Regions from separate parts of the Homo sapiens genome. Here region 1 is linked to region 2. Evidence: promoter capture Hi-C in 16 types of primary human blood cells and fetal thymus (Javierre and others, 2016). All regions are on one chromosome and are shown on one strand. Each heading gives the region's core, a stretch centred on a gene start or on the middle of the fragment in contact. The rest is flanking DNA. Distances are from core to core; before and after follow the strand shown. Region 1 has its middle 8.3 kb from the start of LINC00302. Region 2 holds the start of LCE6A (late cornified envelope 6A).

Evidence for each region. Contacts are between HindIII fragments. The CHiCAGO score rates a contact against its expected background, and 5 or more counts as called.
Region 1: a fragment that was not itself captured here is called in contact with the fragment with the promoter of LCE6A in region 2 in 1 of 17 cell types (M0 macrophages); the score reaches 5.4 in M0 macrophages.

Annotation. Positions count from the first base shown.
Region 1 is chr1:152,645,864-152,648,563 of GRCh38, forward strand. No RefSeq gene overlaps it. Among named protein-coding and RNA genes, the nearest start is that of LINC00302, 8.3 kb to the right of the region's middle. The HindIII fragment of the contact is 1,192 bases long and covers 748-1,939 here.
Region 2 is chr1:152,841,547-152,844,246 of GRCh38, forward strand. LCE6A (late cornified envelope 6A) reads left to right here and starts at 1,310. Exons shown (of 2, transcript NM_001128600.2): 1 at 1,310-1,465; 2 at 1,954-2,437. The coding sequence starts at 1,975. The coding sequence ends at 2,217. The HindIII fragment of the contact is 3,660 bases long and covers 1-2,700 here.

The sequences.
Region 1 (2,700 bases), core at 94-2,593, 200 kb before region 2:
TTCTGATTTATTTTACTTGTGAGGATAGTGATGACTGAGCTGATTTAGTCAAAACAATTAACTCTTTCTTAATTTGGCAAGAGGAAGGCAGGCTATAGAGGTCATGTCTCTGTAACTATAGTCAGGAAACCTGGTGTCAATTCTAGCTGTAACTCGTGACCTTTGAAATATCACTCATGTTTCCTAGGCATCTGTGTTCTTTTTAAAATGATCAATGAGTACCCTAATACTCATTGATTTGAACATTAAGAAATGAAAATATGTAGCATGTGTTTTGTACGTAGAAGATGCTCAATAATGCATGCTAAAACAAATTGACAGCATCTAGGCCTTATGGGGGGTTGAAAGATGGTCACTTACGGTTGCTACTTTTAAGGAGCTTATCCCTAAACTCTAACAAGTGGCCTGAGAAGGGCTTGCCATCCTGGGGAGCTTCTAAATCTGGAGTCCAGTTATCCCTGGGAATGAGGAATGGGAGATGACATTGACTGAGGGATTGAGTACACTTGACATTGAAAAATCAGGGAAGAGTTGGGTTAGACAGATTTTTTCATTTATTGAAGGCAGTCATTGTACCATTCATTGTTTGAGGAGCAGAATAAAGCTGTGAACTAAATGGCAGTGGCCACTCCCTCACTGAGGTTCCCAAATAAGGAGAAACATATGACCTCTAAAAGTCTCTTTTAGAGGTGCTCCATTCTCTATTTATTTATTACCTATTTTCAGACAAGGTCCCTACCCTCCACAAGCTTTCAGGCCAAATGTAAAATAGATTTAAAAAATGAACAAAGTGTTTGGTTAAATGGACATTCATTTAGCACACCAGATGAGGTCTGTGGACATCAGTCTGGAATTTGGGATTTGGATGTGAATCAGACACAACCTCTAACCTTGAGAAGCTCACAGTCCACTAGAATCTCTGAAGCACTTCTTTGCATGAGAAAAGCCCATGAGGTCCAAAGCAGGTGGCTCTGAATTTCATCTCCTGAATCACTACTTTGCAATGAGATATGTGAGATACTTTCATTAGTCCAAATTTTTCTTTGGTGTTGTCAGCCTGAGTTTCCTCATTCTCTGTGAAGAGATGTTTGTAGCAACCATGATGGAGTGAGAGGCAGGACTGAAGTGTATGGGCATTTACATGTGGTGTGTGTGTGTGTGCATCCATCATCCATGCATGTACACACACACACACACACACACACACACACTTATATACTTAATTGGCGGTGGGTACAAAAGCACAAAAAAGCCAATTCCCCTGGTTTTTGGTGGCAGGGGATAGAGAAGCACTTCATTACACTCACCGGTGTCCAAGTATTTAGTGTGCCTTCTCACTGTTCCATGTACTGAAATGCATATGAAACAGCATACTATTTCACAAAGTTGTCCCTACTCCATAAGATTTCTTACTAGTATTTTAAAACATTATAAGATATGTGTGTTTATTTCTATAATTCTGATCCTATCAGAATGTGAGAGCTGCTGAGTAAAGAAACCCTGTTTTCATCCTCTTGGGTCCCCGTAAAGTGGTTGTTCAAATAAATAAATAATTATGTTAGATGGATGAGTAAATAATGATGAATGCCAGGGTGATGATTTCAGAAGTTTATCTCCAAGTCCCTTTAGACTGGGAATCAATAACCTCCAAGGTGGTATCTCTAAATGTCTCCAGAACCTCTTCATTCATCAGAAGGTCTTGCTAGGACCTCAAATCTACACCCCTCCCAATATTTGTTCTCTTTCCACCATATGATTATTTCTCTGGTCAAGACATTTGATATCTGGTCAAGACATTTGGTATAATCTTTGATCTATCCCTTTTCCCCATCACATATACACAAAGGGACATCCAGTCTTGTAGATTCTTTTGAAAAAACTCTCTTAAAGTTTTCTATCCTCTCTTTCCTATTTGTCTCATCTAAGCCCCACCTCACAAAGCTTGGCAAGAAAGATGTGACCACCTATTTCATGAGAAGGGACTGGCACGCAGCGACCCAGGCCTTAGAGCCTCAGCCCAGTGACCAGGTTCTTGGGATCTCAGGCTATCTGAGGCTTATATTTGGGAAAGGGTGTGGCTCGTTGAAGGCCCACAGGTCTTGGGCCCCATTGAGAGGCTGGAGTGCTCCTACAGCTCTTTTGGAAGGAGAATGTCAGGAATGGCCCTAAGTGTTCCTTGGTTGTGAGAGATTTTCTCCTGCTCTTTCCAGAGACAAGGCTCATTTCTGAGCCCAGCCTGGGGACTCCTCCTATGAAAGGTGTCCCTGGTTCTTCTTCTTCCTCCTTTTGGACACCTCTGCAGCCTGAGCTAATTCTGAGACTCATCCTGGTAAGTGTGTCTGTGCAAAACCAAAGGACATCTCTGGATTTGGCAGTTTTGTGGTTTTCAGATGTTTACTCTAAGCATTCTTGTACATGTCTTCTAGGAGCAGAATTGCTGAATCTTGGTGTATTTAGTAGCTAAGAATTTAAATTTATAATGGAGAGCTAATCTGTTTTTCAAAATGATTGAATTTTTATGCCCAATATCCTTAAATAAATTTGAAACGATCTACTCCTTTATAGTTTTGTACTGTTCGCCTAGAAAACAATTTTGGCCATTGTTTTCTATGTTTCTTAATAGTACTTTAGTTTCTCAACTAGTTATAAGAGAATTCATACTTTTTGTCTCTTCTTGAGCTTATTTTACTAGATTATACT
Region 2 (2,700 bases), core at 60-2,559:
ACCCTGGTCTTCATACCCTCTCCCATACCCCAACCCTACTCACCTTTGTCCTATACATGATTTGAAGGCCTTTGAGGACTGCCCCTACAGTCAGAATGTTCCTTGTAATTGCTCATCTTTTTATTTACCCAACTGTTTCCTGAATACCTACTGTGTGTCAGGCATCAGAAATACAGAGGCAGGTGAGGCACACTCTTGAGCAGCAGGGAGTTTCATCAGTGCCTTTTAACTTAGCTGGGCACACCAGGAGCGATTCTGAGATGGAAGCATCCAGAGGTGAGGGACTGTGTTTAGAGAATGTTCCCAATTTAAGCACTGCCAAAACATGATTATCTCAATTTTCATGAAAGCTAAAGAAGAACTTTTCACTCTGTGGAAGGCTTTTCCACAATGTCCCTTGATAATTCCAAGAACAGCTCCCCTTTTGCATTTAAGAGACAGCAGGTGTGTGAAGGTTTTGCTTCCCACCCTCTGCTCAGCCTATTGTGTAAGGTGAGGTCCACCCACAGAGTTCCCTGTAGTATTTATGAAAGGGTGTTCACAAATGCCTTAGGGGAGAATGATGGAAACAAGAAGTCAAGGTCTCGTCCACAAAACAAAATGAGTTGGGCTTTATTTTATTCCTGTTTTTTTCTCCTGAAACACAAAGTCTTTTCTAATGGCACATAGACTGTTTCATTCAACAAATACTAATGAGTATTTTCTTTGTGTCAGGAACAACATCAGGCTCTAGGAATGCAGAAGTGATAAAGGCACTGTCATCAAATAACAGTTTAATAGGTGAGATAGGATATGTATCTTGGTCACACGACCCAAAGCAATAGTAAAGGCTGTGACATGTATCTATAAAGGTCAGAGGATGAAGGACTCATGTGTGGCTAGAGCAATGGGCCAATCTCCACAGAGGTGATGACACGGAATGGGATGCTGACAGTCATGGATGATGGGTGGGGAGTAGACAAGGAAGGTCTTCCTCAGACCCTGGGTGATGTCGAACCTGATTTTTCCCTCCAATCCTACATAGAATTCAACAGCAGCTGCAACCCGCCCAGCCTCCCAAGGACATCATCCAGATTAGCCAGTGTACCCACTTCTGCGTAGGCCAATCTGAAGGCCCCAGCCTTCTGCTCACTCACGCACCTGCAGATGCCTTTGAACCACATCCCAGCTACATGTAGCTGAGGAATCTAGCACTGGGAATTGTGAAATACCCAGATCAATCATCCACTCCATGGCTCTCCTCCAATGACATGTGGCCTGGAGGCTTCAACTGGAGGATATATAAAAGAGCCTCTTACTTCCTGGCAACACAAGGCCTCCAGACTCCTCCTGGGATAACTTGTCCACACATCTTCCACTAGGGTAAGGCTACTTCTGGCTGAGGAGACACTTGGATGTAGCTCAAGTGCTGCTTAGGCAGTCCTGATCTCTCCTCTCGTCTCTTCCCAGGGAGCTGAAAAGCCAGGTAGGAGATGCTTGGGGTAGAAAGAAGGGAAGAGAAGTGGATCCCTGCAAAAGAAAGACCCCAAATAATCTAACATGGGAGAAAGCCATAGAAGTTAGAGGGCCAGAAAAGCAGAGATGGGACAGTCAGACTTAGGAGTCTGGGGACAGAATAAGACAGAGTAAAGAAAGAGCAGAGACTTGGCTCTCCTTTGCACTTAACCAGGTGGACATTGGGCTGGGAAAAGTAAACTGTCAGCTCAACTAAGTACAATTTGTCTTTTTTTTTTTTTAAGGAAGCATATATCATTAACATGGTTATTAGTAAGTGAGTCCCCTGGGAAGATTTACTCCCAAATATTTAGTCCTTTCAAGTCCGTTTTTCTCCTCCTGAGATGGAGTTCAGTGGGTTGTAAATGCTGGACTTCATTTTTGACAGCTCCAGTTTGTGGAGGAGAGAAACAGAAGCCCAAGCTGCCTGGGTCCCTGATATAACTATTTTTCTTCCAGATTCGACCTGGTAGCCAAGCAATGTCACAGCAGAAGCAGCAATCTTGGAAGCCTCCAAATGTTCCCAAATGCTCCCCTCCCCAAAGATCAAACCCCTGCCTAGCTCCCTACTCGACTCCTTGTGGTGCTCCCCATTCAGAAGGTTGTCATTCCAGTTCCCAAAGGCCTGAGGTTCAGAAGCCTAGGAGGGCTCGTCAAAAGCTGCGCTGCCTAAGTAGGGGCACAACCTACCACTGCAAAGAGGAAGAGTGTGAAGGCGACTGAGCCCAGAAGAGTTGAGGCACAGGTGCAGTTACTCTCTCCCTGCCCCACCTTTGGGTACTAATTCCCCCTTGGAAAGCCAGGCCCTCAACCTCTCATTTGGACTGAGAAACACTTCCTGATCCCCAGCTCTAGAGAAGCGAGAACTAGGCTGAGCCACGCTGCTACTGCTCTCTTCCATTCACCCCTTCAGCTCAGCAACAATAAAGCTGCTTTACTTGGAGCCCTGACTTCTGTGAGTTCTTGAGACCCCTGCTCAGATGTACTGAGACCCCCGCTTCAACCCAAGTGCATGGTGCTTCTCCTCCTTCCTCTTAAGACAGCTGATAGTATTTTTAAGAAGCAGATGTTCTGGGATTTATGTCCCAGTTTCCAGCAGCCTCACAGCCATCAACCCATGTCATTGCATGATTCTAGCACCAAAGACTACAATAAACATATGTTGAGCACCTACTGTGTACTGGCCTCTGTGTTTACAGATGTAAG